Regions from separate parts of the Homo sapiens genome. Here region 1 is linked to region 2. Evidence: promoter capture Hi-C in 16 types of primary human blood cells and fetal thymus (Javierre and others, 2016). All regions are on one chromosome and are shown on one strand. Each heading gives the region's core, a stretch centred on a gene start or on the middle of the fragment in contact. The rest is flanking DNA. Distances are from core to core; before and after follow the strand shown. Region 1 has its middle 620 kb from the start of NLGN4Y-AS1. Region 2 holds the start of UTY (ubiquitously transcribed tetratricopeptide repeat containing, Y-linked).

Evidence for each region. Contacts are between HindIII fragments. The CHiCAGO score rates a contact against its expected background, and 5 or more counts as called.
Region 1: a contact is called between a fragment that was not itself captured here and the fragment with the promoter of UTY in region 2, in 1 of 17 cell types (fetal thymus). The highest score is 5.4, in fetal thymus.

Annotation. Positions count from the first base shown.
Region 1 is chrY:15,418,696-15,425,631 of GRCh38, forward strand. No RefSeq gene overlaps it. Among named protein-coding and RNA genes, the nearest start is that of NLGN4Y-AS1, 620 kb to the left of the region's middle. The HindIII fragment of the contact is 4,987 bases long and covers 1,737-6,723 here.
Region 2 is chrY:13,474,248-13,481,374 of GRCh38, forward strand. It overlaps UTY (ubiquitously transcribed tetratricopeptide repeat containing, Y-linked), which reads right to left and starts at 5,786. Exons shown (of 30, transcript NM_001258249.2): 1 at 5,267-5,786; 2 at 5,007-5,070. The coding sequence starts at 5,418. MIR12120 (microRNA 12120) reads left to right here and starts at 4,930; the gene lies at 4,930-5,019. The HindIII fragment of the contact is 7,265 bases long and covers 4,279-7,127 here.

The DNA of each region.
Region 1 (6,936 bases), core at 2,980-5,479, 1.9 Mb after region 2:
TCTGTGTACTAACTGCCTCTTATAAGAATGGCAGTCTCATTGGATTAGGACTGCATTTAGCCCTTCAAAGACCTATCTCCAAATATAATCACATTCTGAGGTCCTGGGGTTAGGTCTCCACCACATATATTTCAGGGGGACATGACTCAGCCTATGACACTGGCTTACTCATCTTTATCTACTCAGTTTTGTTTTGTTTTATTTTGTTTTAAATAAAAGGCAAGAGCAGTTTGTCAATGGAAGGTGTATCTTAACATGGTGAAGGGATGAAGAAAATCATAAGAAATAAGGATCAAAATCATTTTTTAAAGAATACATATCTGCATATGTATAAATTCATTTGTGTATCTCAGATTTTACTTATCTAATTCTACCTAGGGTTTCTCAAAAGAGCCAAAAAGCATAGGGTATGGTTCCTGCTATGCAGAGTGTACCTCTGGTACTCAAAGTAGCAAAGTGGGAGTTATATTGGCAAAAGGAGGCATAGCTTGCTAACCACAGGCACAGCTCAAGTTACCAAGCCTTCCACACGTGGGGACTCTGAAGGATGAGGAGTCAGAAATGCTCATTCACATTCTCAAAGAGCAACTGCCTTTTATTCTACAAGTCCAATTACCAGGGAAGGACAGCTGGTAAGAGAACGCCTTTTCTTTGAACAGTTAGGGGCTCGGCACATACATAATTAAGGCTAGCTCAGTGTTCTAACTATGTCAGTAATATGGCCTTATGAGTTGTCACTGTCAGTCAGTTGGACAAACTACATGAAAGATATCCAGAATTCAATTAGATATTCTTTCAACAGCTGTACCTGGGACTGTACCTGACCTGAGATGTATAATGAAAGAAGTTAGTAAGAATGGAGGATTCTTGTCAAGTTCAAAGATTATTGGATTTATGTAAAAAAATGAAAAATCCAATCACCTGCATGGGAATGTAAAGTACCTGGGAGGGGAAGTGTTTTCCTTAATGTCTCCTAACAACCAAATCATTTAGAGACATGTTTAAGAAAGGCAAGACCACTGAATACATTTTCTGTGTTACTTATTATTTTATTACTTGTACTCTTTAATTAAATTCAGCCTGTGAGAAAAATAATTCTATAAATAATCATTTAAATACATACCTGAATTATTAACACTTACAATTTAAGACAATAAGCATGATGTTGAAATATTAAGAAGTTTTGGTTCATCATTTTTATAAACTTCACTTATTGTGCTTAAGATGATGACTATTTAAAGGGGTTTCATTCATTAATTCAGACAACTGAACTACTCAACAAAGCCATAAAATATATTAGTTTTATAAGTGTGATTAAACAGTATAAAGGTGAAGTTTATGATAAATTTGTAAAGGGATTGAAACAATGTTATGACTTATGAACAGTGACTGTTAACGTTTACTAGATTTTTTGTTTTTGCAGACAGACTCACTCTGTCACCCAGGCTGGAGTGCAGTGGCATGATCTTGGGTTACTGCAACCTCTGCCTCCTGGGTTCAAGTGATCCTCATGCCTCAGCCTCCCAAGTAGCATGGATTACAGATGTGTACTACCAGATGCAGCTAATTTTTGTATTTTTAGTTGAGATGGGATTTCACCATGTTGCCCAGGCTGTCTTGAACCCCTGGGCTCAGGTGATCCATCTGCCTCAGCCTCCAAAAGTGCTGCAATTACAGGAATGAGCCACCACACCCAGCCAACATTTGCTAGATTTATCAGCGAAATAAACAGAAAAAGCTTAGGGAACAAAAAAGTTTTTGAATCTAACTTTAATAGCTTATAAATATTTAGAATTAAAGTGTAGTGGTGAACTCAGGACACAGGAAGTCCTACAGCAATATTAAGCAGCCACAGTACACCATGCCTGTGTGTGTAAGCTCATCAGAAAGTGGAGCATGAAAAAGGGCTAGGGACTCAATGGCACCAGCAGCAGAGTCTCTGCCCCGGAGAATTACACTCCTGGGATTCCAAGCTGGTACCCAAACACTTTCCCATAAGAAATAAGAGATGGTCAGGGACATTCTGAAATGAGAGAGCTCCTCAGGTGCGTAAGGGTTATGTGAATATGGGAGTGGGTATCTAACCTCTTGTTTTAATATTTCTATCTGGGGAAATGTGTTCTAACTATCAAAGTACTACAAAACAAATTTATCTTAGGTCTTGTGTTTATATTCTAATGTGGATACTAATGCATGATTTTGTGAATAAAAATCAGGTACCCTGAGATTTGGTGAAACAATGGGGGCCCAAAATGCTCAACCCATAAATAAGCAGGAATTCATATTTTTAAATATGAGGTTATAAATCCCCTGCCCAAACCCCCACAATCTCTCTTTTCTATTAGTTACTGTGAGTAAAGTATAGTTGCACTTAAATGCCGCTGGACTGTGAGCCCCTGCAGGTGAAATTACAAGTTAAAACATAGTCCTCATGGGTGAAGAAAGGTCAGAGCGTACCCTTAGCCTTTGGGCAACCATTGCTTTGAACATAATTAGAGAATGCAAGTATACAGGAAAGTGGTGCCAGCATATAGTTAGTTATATCATGGCATTTCATTAACAACATTTGATAACATTTAAAGATCACAGGGCACATACAAAATGATATGCCTTCTTCCTTTCCATTTTATATCCCCATCCTGGCTGCAGTATGTAGAAAATGAGGGGTGGAAAGAAGGCGATCTAATATATTGGCTCCATCTAGTCCCTGCTCTGTCACGTAACATGTATACATTCATTCAAGGAGATAAAAATTGCCCGAAGTCTCTCTGTCAATACACATGCCATGTTGGGCTGGTGTTCTGAATGTTGAGACTCCAGCAGTCAACAGAACAGGCCTAGAGCCTGGCATCCATGGAGGACACGTTGTAGGACCCAACATTGCTCAGCATTTTGCTGCCATCCCCAAGAGAGTGATGCACAGCTCTTCTCAGGCTCTGAGTTGCGATCATTCTCAGACCTGAGGGGATATTACCTGAAGGCGAGAAGAATGGGATGCAAAAACAGTGACCAGTGACCATGACCTAAGGAAGTGCCATTTACTAATTTAGTATTTTATTGTATAATTCCATGAACTTTTATCTTATAATACAATTTTATTCCTTATTCAAAAACACTGACCTTTTAAAGATCTCACATCTGGGCCACAGAACTTCTGTGAAGGCAAAGGAAGGAGCCTCTTAACCCTTCTTATTACCAGACATGTCATACTCAGGCAGTACACAGCATACAAGGCGCCGTCCAACTCTGAAAAAAAAAAAAAAAAAAAAAGACTGGGAAAGGAAGATGATTGTGTGTAAAATATGTGACACGGAGCACCACCACACAAATGGTTAGTTTCCATGTTTATCACCGGCATGGTGAATGGAGTTCAAAATGTATTCCAAAGCACTTTCTTTTTACTTCCTTCTATGGAAAATCAACTGTACTTGAAAATCATGGTGCATCCCATGGCTAAATAACTCCAAACCCAGGAGGTGGGACTGGGCCCTCTACTTCTCCTTGACATTTGTAACCCAGCTGGGACAAGAAAAGGACAAGGGAGTGGAATAAAAGGACTTCAAAGTTGCAAATTCTGCATCCTTACAGTCAACAGAGATTAAGCTGGAAGTGGCAGGCTTTCGCTCAGGATTGGGGTGGGGATTCAGGTTTTGATGTAGGGTTGGGGGAGGATTTGGAGGCTGACTGAAGACTAACTAGGGATCCAGAGCTACTCCCTCTGTATCAGAGTTGCATATTCTCTTCCAGGCTACCCAGTGAATTTCTTTCTAACTCCACGTGTTTTTTTTGTTTGTTTGTTTGTTTTTTTTTTTTAAAAAACAAAAACATGATAGGCATACAGTTAAATTTACATTTCTAGACCCTTCCTAGACCAACTATCCAACTCTGTGTACATATGTATTCTCATTGAGGAAGGGGACTTAGAAATAATAAGTTTAAATTGGCTTCTAGGGGTCAAGAACAGTGGCTTGCACTTGTAATCACAGCACTTTAGGAAGCCAAGGCAGGTAGATCACTTGAGCCCTGGAGTTTGAGACCAGCCTGGGCAACATGGCAAAACTCCATCTCTATTAAAAATACACAAATTAGCCAGGTGTGGTGGTGCACACCTGTAGTCCCAGCTACTTGGGAAGCTGAGGCAGGACAATCACTTGAGCCTGGAAGGCAGAGGTTGCAGTGAGCTGAGACTGCACCATTGCACTCTAGCCTGTGCAACAGAATGAGATTCTGTCTCAAAAAATAATAATAAAAGTAAAAAATAAACTGACTTCTAGGTACTAATGGAACAGAAATTAAAGAATGTGTGAGCAAAAACTCAGTTATATGTAAGAAAACCCAATTCCCCCCTGAGAAAGAGAAAGAGCTAGAGTCCTTTGAAAATTAACTGCCTGTTTTTCTGTGGCTAGTAAGCCTTATCACTCCTACTTTCCCAGCATGGTGAATATCTTGTTTCTCTAGCTGAGCAGCTGCAAGGTCACTAGACAGATAAACTCAAGTCACAAAACTTGTTTTTCGTTGAAAAGTAAGAAATCATGTAATACATCTCTCAATTAATTGAATAACTGCATTTGTTTCTTGCGTCTGTAATATGCTTCTCTCTGTACAGATCTCCCTCAGCCCCACAAAATACTTAAAAGGTAACTTAACTCTTTGTTCAGGGCTTAGTCCTTTGGATGTTAATCCGACTGGGCCAGTGCAACTAAATAATACATATCCTCCTCCTGAACCCCATCGGTCTCTCTGATTACTTACCAATACCATCACATTTCTGGGAGCTCATCCAGGATTGGAGATTTACTGTCTCCTTTGCCTGTGGGACTAGAGCCCCAGGGCCAGGGGAAACCCAGCATCCAAGGCATGCCATGAGGGAGCTTCACCCAGATGGAAACCAGCTCTCCCCTGATCCCAGTGCCCTGGCCACTAGTGTAATGGAACCAGGGATGGAGCTGCAGGATGATACCAGCACTTCATAAACCATGGTAAGGAGTAAGAGCCCAAGGCAGCAAAGCCCATCCCATAGGGACAAAGGGGAGCCTGATCACCTGTTGGGGACTGACAATTAATCAAAGCTAGAGCATCTGGGGACAGCAGGAATGGCCTGCCAACTTGGATGAACCTCATGTCCCCACTAACAAAATGAAAGTGGTTCATTGGAACTGAAAAAAAGGAGAAAATGGGCCGATAGAGTGGCAAGTGCAGCAAGGCAGAGCTTGCTGTCAGGGTGGCAAGAGTAGCTTGCTACTCCAACTGGGAGTGTGTGGGTGCATGTGAACCTGCCCAGGACACAAAAGAGGCTCATTTAGTCTGATGAGGAGTCCTGCGGTAGGAGTGGTGTGTGTATTTGTGTGAATGTGGGAGTCTAACTGCAGTCAACCAGGACAGAAGAGACTTGTTTCACCCAGTGAGGAGTCCTGGGGCAGGGGAGGTGTGTGAAAGTATGTTAAAGAGATGGTCTCAGGAGAGGCCAACATTGGCAATGATGTGGGGAGGCACAAGTCCTTTAGCACAGGCTGTGTGCTCTGAGGTGAGTGTGGGAAAATCAGACCTAGGACATTGCATACAGGTGATAGGACCAGATCTGCAGCCACAGCAGGCTCTAACAGGAGAATGCATGTTCCTGGCTAAGCAGCATCTGAAACTCCCATAATAGGACCCGGTCTGATGGACCAGAGAGTAAAAGTGACAGTGAAAGTGCGATGCAAGAGAGAAAATGGGAGAGCAAGTGTCAAAACCAACTCCTTTGGAGTGCATGATAAAGAATTTTGAAAAAGCGTTTAGAGATAATTATAGGATAAGACTGGATGTTCCAAAGTTAAGGATATACTGTGAATTAGACTAGCCTTCTTTCAATGTCAGATGGCTGGCTGAAGGCACTACAGAGAAATTGGTCGTGTTTTAAGGTGGTGACTAGGGTTGGAGGATAGCCAGGGCATTCAGACCTAGTCTTCATATAGACTCATGGCTAAATGAATGCAGCATTGCCTAGCAGCTTATTGTAGAATGCTCGCAGCTCACGTTGAGAGAAATCAGCTGCACTGGCAACTACAGAGTTAAAGGGAAAGTCACAGAGGCTTGTAGCACGCAGAGCCAAAAGTGAAAGTAAAAATCAGCTGCCCTGGAAGCTACGGAGACAAAAGAAAAGTCTCAAGAAAGAGAAAACCGGCTTTGCAAGAACTATAGGAGGGAACAGAGACCCCTCCTCCCTACATTCCAATCTACCCCCCTTTACCAAGGCTAACTGCCCCTAAGGAGCTAAATTCAAACAGATACATGCTCCTAGTCTCACTTGAGAAGGAGAAATCAGAGCTCGGGAAGTTGTGAAAGTTTCAAAAAGTCAGGCCATCTCAGTTCTGACCATGCCAATGTTATGCTCATGTCTCTTAAGAGGACAAGGGGACCCCCACTAGGACCCAGATGATGCAGTCCAGCTTCAACACCTACAAAGTGCCAAGAAGTACTTCTGCAAAGGCTAAATGATGGTAAAAGAAAAGGCAACCAATATAAAAAGCTCAGAGGTGCTCCAACATGGAGATAAAAGCATCAGCCAGTGTTATAAAAGATTTTTAACAGCTGGAACTAAGAAATAAAGTACAAGGAAGAAATTCTACAGCTCTTAAATGCCGTATGGGACCCAAAAGAGGTGGCAGTGATGCACTGAAAGGGGCACCAAAAAGCAAGAACACTAAAGGCCAAAGAAAATAGAAAGGCAGACAGGGCAAAGAAAGCTTCAATGACAACTCCACGTTCTAAAGAGAAAGACTTAGCTATGCCTCTCCTCCTGGAGATTCCCCTCCCAGAGATCCCAAGCTACACTCTAGATGAAAAGTTTTGGTTTGGTCAGGAAACAGGGAAATATATTAAAAGTGAACGGTGGCTGTTCTCTGATGGGAGGCTAGCTGCCCCAGAGACAATAGCCCCAGATTTGTAAAATAGTTC
Region 2 (7,127 bases), core at 4,536-7,035:
AAAAAAAAACAAAGATAGTTTTATAACTTTATGAAGCTTTATGTTACTGCCATGGTAACTACAAAGAAAACATATAGGACATATGTACAAAGTGAAATGAAAAGAGAATTAAAATTTGTCACTACAAAAAAATCCAATGAAACACAAAGGAAGGCAGAAAGAGAGGAAAAGAGAAATAAAAAGGGTACAACATAGAAAACAAGGTAAACTTTTAGACAATTATAGTAACCTATATTTTAAGGCATAAAAATGAAATGAAACAAAGAAAATGGAAGTAGTAAGTCCTTTCTTGTCAGTAAAGAGAAACAGGTAATGCACCAATCATAATACACAGAGGGAATAACTGGATTTAAAAAAACAAGATACAACTACACATTGCCTAAAAGACATTCACTTTAGACCTAAGGACACGCACAGGCCAAAAGTGTAAAAATGAGAAAAGATCTGTATTCTATTCTCTGAAGAGGGCAAGAGTGTCCATCCTGGGACTATAGGTGCAGATCACCATGTCTAGCTAATTTCTTAGTTTTTTGTAGAGATGGAGTTTTGCCATGTTGCCCAGGCTAGTCTTGAACTTCTGGACTCAACTGATGCATCAGCCTCCATCTCCGAAACGGCTGGGATTACAGGCAAGAGTCACCACGCCAGGCCAAGTAAAGCTTATAACAAAATGAGATCAGCGAGTAAAAGAATAGCAAAGTACATTACTTTAAACATCTGCTAAAGCTAAAGTCTGATTTTAAATCTGAATTCTAAATAAAATTACAAGATGCACTGCTGTGGTATGAATCAAATAATCTCCAAGTAACAACTCTGTCCTATTAAGAAACAGCAATGCAAACTTTTATTTTCATAAGCTAACCTTTACTGTGAACTTTTAAAGCCCTTCACACATTTATTCTACACTCATGTTCCGGTGTTAGTCATCCTACCACTTAAAGGACTATTTGTTCAATCTAAACTGAGAGAGGTCTTACTTCAATACGACCTTCATAAAAGTTTTCCATTCATGGCACTCTCAAGTTTGTTCTGCTCTGAGTTGCAGCAGCAATTTATAAGCCAATCATGTGAAGATTCAAAGCAAGTTCATAAAATATGCCAGTCATTTTATGACAGCCATTGACTAATTTACAAAATATGTAGGTTTAGGTCTTAATTTGTTGAATGAAACAATCTTATATTCTTTAAAATACAAATTAGCTCTCTAGACAGCTCATTAAAATGGGATCATTCGTTAGCATCACAGTAAGTTGCAGTGCAAAAATAACCTTCAAAACTAAAAATCAATCTATGTCAGAACAGATGTATAATACTGTGGTTGGAAAGCACTAAAATTTAATTTTGGCTTACAGCATTATGCCTATAAATAAATTTTGCCACCTGAGTCACAGACAAAACAGGCAAAACAATCTTATTTGGCAATTTAAATAATATCAAATGTTCCCTAGTTATTTCAATTTGACTCTTTTAAAAGCTAGCTAGTTAGTAATAAAAGTAGGCTGGATGCAGTGGCTCACTCCTGTAATCCCAGCACTTTGGGAGGCTGAGGAGAGCAGATCACCTGAGGTCAGGAGTTCCAGACCAGCCTGGCCAACATGATGAAACCCTGTCTCTACTACAAATACAAAAAATTAGCCAAGCATGGTGGTGGATACCTGTAATCCCAGCTACTTGGGAGGCTGAGGCAGGAGAATCACTTGAACCCAGAACACAGAGGTTGCAGTGAGGTGAGACCGCACTATTCCACTCCAGCCAGGGCAACAAGAGTGAAACTCCATCTCGGGGGAAAAAAAAGTAAAGTAAACCAATACCAGAAAAGTGCCCATTTATTATCACATAGTTTGGAACTGTGCCTAGATATCAAAATATTTTCTATAATTGCTTCAGATATGTATGTCCAACGTTGTACCCAAATTTTCTATTAGCATTCTTACATAATGCCTACTTAATACTTTGTCCAGTAATACGTAAACAATAACAACTCTAATTGTTTGGAAGACAACATCCAAACTGTTCCTGATACACCAAATTAAAGACCTAATTCTAAATAACAAAACATGACATTATTTCTATAGTTGCTTTTTTAACTCAAAACACTATTTTTACAACTGGAAATGAAGTTCTACAGGTTACAGGTTAGCAAACAAAACGCATATAACGCAAGATCTTAAATATCACCTTTCAAATATTACAGTATAAAAAACCACTCAAAGCATTTTAATAGGCGTTTCTCCTGTTAATGCCTCTAGCATTATATTGAAGGCATACTGTAATAGTAATATTCTATTTGACAGAGTGAAACTCTATCATAATACAAACAAAATCAACCTAAAACGTTTTCCAACATGAAATAAAAGTTACTATTGCTAAAATCTGTTTTTCACTTAATTGAACTGCGTATTATTTAAATACGAGCAAGTTATTAAGCTTCAACCAAAAAGTTTTTGCTGAAAAGTATTTACACTAATTCAGATGACAATCTTATAAAAATTAATAAAAATCTTATAAAACATAAGTTACAGAATTTTAAGGAAATCTATTGTTACAACCATCCTAATGGTTTGATATGCGGGTTCACGTATGAGGTCAAAAAAAAAAAAAATCAGAGAAACTAGTCGTTGGGATAGAGCATCCTCAATGTCCAGAAAACTTGACAGGGAAAAAAGCATATTTATAACAATATTTTAAACCTTTAGAAGCTTGTAAAACAATACTGACATTAGTAAAATCTATAAATAAAACTTTCATAGAAAACATAAATACGAATAAAAACTGAAATATCAGTGAAATAGATCATTCTAAGAACTTTTTTAAAAAACAGTGATATATGCAAAGCTCTGTGAGAAAGGGAAAAAATACTTTATTATACATACTGTAGAATAATTTGTCTTGGAGAACAGGTACTATGGTTTGAATATGTCCCCCAAAGTTCATGCATTGAAAACATAATCCTCAATGCAACAGTGTTGTGAAATGATGTCTTTAAGATTTGACAACATCATAAGCAGGCTGCTCTCATGGATGGGTTAATGTCATAGTGAGGATAGGTTCATTACAGAGAGTTAGGCATCCCCCATCTCTTGCACTGTGATATACTTTCTTGCCCTTCCACCTTCTCCAAAGAATGATGCAGCACTAAAGCCCTCATGAAACGCAGCCCCTTGATCCTGGACTTCCCAGCCTTCAGAATCCTGAGCCAAATGAAGTGAAATTGAGTTAATATTTTTTTCATTTCAAAAAAGTCACTGCAGTTTAATATACGGCATTACTCAGTGTTTTATGAAGCTACAGTTCTCCCCAAACATAATGAAACCACTTTCTCATATTTAAAATGTTACTGTAATCAAAATTGGAAAGGATCAATATGTGAAAAAAAAATTCCTTAAAATTTAAACCCCATATTGTCTATCTGAAAAGTTCATTCCAAACTAAAATGTTAACCACAACCCACTGAGAATTTATCCTAACTCCAGCATATGAAGATTTAAAGTTCTCAACCAGTATTTTCCCACATTATCCCAGAAAACATCAAATTACTTTTATTTCATTATCATAACTATTTTAAACATTAAGGCAGATCGAGTCACTGTTGCTTAAATCGTATCATTGATACTATAACATGTTTTTCATAAAGCTATTTTCACTTGCATAATCAAAGTTTAACTCATGTTTCATTTATCAGTCAAATAAAGTGGATTTACTAACTATATATATACACATTATACATACATATATATATTACATTTTAGTTTTCTGATCAGTATTTGCCCCCAAAACAAACATACAAAGGAGATTATAGGTAAAAGAACTCAGCGTCTGTACTGAATTAAACTACAAAGTAAAACGTCTTGGTAAGTAAAATGTTCATCCTGAGAAAATAATTAGTATTTCCTTGTCAAATACAATAATAAACTGAAATTCTTAACTACTGGCTTCAGCATCTAAAAGATGGCGCGATTGTTGTACCGTTCTTATTTCACGGGACCAATTGACAACATACAAATACTTTAACAAGATTTTGGTGAGAGGGTAAAAAACGATACACACAGGAATATTCCAGGGCCAAGTTACGCAACAATTCACGTGGGAGTAACTAAACATGCTGCAATTAATAAGCACATATAGGTTTAAAAATGCTGCTGTCAATGTTGGAGATAACGCAAGAATTCTACTTTTAAATAATAATAATTTTTAATAAGCAACATGAAGCTACGTCAGCGCTCTTTACGGTCTATTCCTTGCTAAGGTTTCCGGGTTAATACCTCCACCCTCTTCCCAAGCTTCCCCCTTTATTGCTCCTCCCCCTTTTTACCCGCCATCTTGGCTGATAGGAGCAGCCATTAACTAAACGACAGTGCCAACTTTTCACACAAACAACAAATTCTTCCCACTGTGAGCATGACACCTAAGAAACAAGGTTCCTGAATGGAAAAAGCACACACATTCATGAAATCACATTTGCAGCACTGTGCATCCTAAAAAAGTCAACAAATCACTAAACTTCAGGCTAAACATACACGCATCAGTTTATAGGTCAAATATCTACTGCAAACTCTTCACCGCTGTAACTTACTTGCTACTTACACTTAGGACACCAGGGATATTTTTTTTAAAAAGGCAAAAAAATGTTTAAAATTAGACACCAAGAGCCAAATACCAAAAGGCGAGGGGAAGAAGCAGGAAGTTATGAATTTTGAAAACTGTACACATTCACTATTTGTGACGCTAAAATTCAGGAACAAAAGGCCCTAAAGTAACAGGCATGTGGTGTAGACCCGGTTTAGCCCGGTCCCAAAGCGTCCGATTTTTTTTTTCCTCAGAGTAGAAGGGAGTCTGGAGCAAGGGGCGAAGTATTCCAGAGTACGGGGACAGCAAAGGCAAGAAACACTTTTCCGACCCCTTGGCCATGGAGCAGAGCCAAAATAAATACTGGCTGGGCGGTAAGGAACGCGGGGCCTTGGTAGAGCAAAGTGCGGACCAAAGACTTTGCGTCTGGTTGCTTTTACCTTGCCTAGTAGGGTCTTCGTTCTGGCGCCATCTTCATGAAGCCTCACGAACCCGAAGAGACGGCTGTAGAGAGAGAGACACAGAGCTTGTTAATGGTCTGAGAAAGCCAGTGACTTGCTCCTTCCCGAGTCCAAGAGCGACAGCGACAGATTGGTGAGTGCCAAGCTGAGGATGACCCCGTCATCAACGTGGGCAAGCTGCGTCCAGGCCTTCCCGGAGAGTATCGCCAGCCAACCAGGCGGGTGATGGAGGTGCGTACCTGTCCATGCCACCAAGCGCCTCCCTTTCCTCGACTGTCAGGCTAACAGACTCCTCTTCACTCTCGCGGCTCGCTTTTCCTTCCGCCATTTTCTTTGCCTCATCACCGAAGGCAACAGCGGCGGTAGTGAGCGACACTGCGCAGGATTTCATGGAAACAACAAATTTCCAAGTCCCACGACGATACCCAACCTTAATCGAGTAGTTGAAAAGACGCCTTCAATCGCTGCTTGAGACTGTGACGCCAATTTTATCGCCTCCTCAGCGGCTGCAAGGAAAAAAGCTGAGGCAAAGACTTAAGCTACCGAAGCACGGGCAGCGGAACTCGGCTACCTGGATCACATCTGGGAAACTACAGGGAAGGCAGAAGCTCGCAGTGCTGGAGAGCACAGCAGAATTTCTTAAAATCACAAACTTTGCCAGCACCAGCACAAAGTTGTAATTGTGTCACGGGCGAACCCCACGCAGCCGCCGCGACCTCCCCGCTCCCAACCACTTAGTTGTAGCCAATCTAGGCGACTGATTCGTCTCACGTGATCTTTGTTGACTTACGTCAGGCATTGCTCCACTGTACTCCTAGGCTGCTGGGACCCCGCCCAGCCAGTTCGCCAAGGACCTAGGAACATGACAGAGGCTGACTGATTCTGACCGCTGGTTGGTTGATGGTCACGTCTATGGAGAAAAGGGTAGTCTCTGGGATGGAACAACCTGTAGGTTGTGCTAGTTAAATGCATTAAGATAGAAAATGGAGTGTCTGTGCTGGGTGTTTTTGCAGTTGCGATACGCTTGAAGGGGAAGAGAGCGATGGGAAGGGCGGCATCGGGCATCACCCACGGGGCGCAAATGCGAAAAGAGGACACCATGGACTTTAGGAGAGTCCGTAATGAGGCTCCCACTGTCACAAGCCTTGCGAATGCGAGACCTTGCGGGGCATGGCAGGGAAGCTGCGCAGGCCCTAAACCTTCACCCTCAAGACTTTTGGCCCTAAGGCCTTGTCACCTCCATAGGCTGGTTCTTTGCCCATTTCCTCTCCACTGACCAAGTCTAAAGAGAAGGCATAATATCTTATGACCTCAGTCGGTAAGCCAGGCCCTAGGGAATCAACGTGGCAACTGCATTTATCAGTTCATGATATTATCTAAACAACAAACGATGAGCAAAAAAAAAAAAAAAAAAAAAAGTTACTCCACAAACCCAAAATGTTTATTTCTATTGTGATAATGATAATTCCGTGAGGTCTCAGTAAGAGTAGGAGCTTCTGTGGACAGGAATTATAAGAACAATAATTAAGACCTTCATCACACTTTCAAGATGCAGTAACCCTTAGAAAAGAAAAAAACACCACTTTTTTCTTACTTTCTCAATTGTAACCAAAATTATAAATAATAGGTAAAAGAATTTATTTCTGAACCCCAAATATCTGAGAGAGGTCTTAGTCAATTTAAAAAGTTTATTTTGCAAGACTTACCCATGATACATTTGCCCAAGGTGGTCAGGGCACAGCTTGCTTTTGTACGTTTTAGGGAAACATGATTGGTTCGGTCAGGTAAGAGGGACAGCTCGAAGCGGGGGCTTCCATGTTAGAAATAGATAAGAGACAGGTCGGGCGCTGTGGTTTACGCCAGTAATCCCAGCACTTTGGGAGGCCGAGGCGGGCAGATGACCTAACGTTGGGAGTTTCAGACCAGCGTCACCAACATGGAAAAACCCCGTCTCTACTAAAAATACAAAATTAACAGAGCATGGTGGCGCATGCCTGTAATCTCAGCTACTCTGAAGACTGAGGCAGGCGAATCGCTTGAACCCAAGAGGCGGAGGTTGCGGTGAGCCGAGATGGCACCATTGCATTCCAGCCTGGGCAA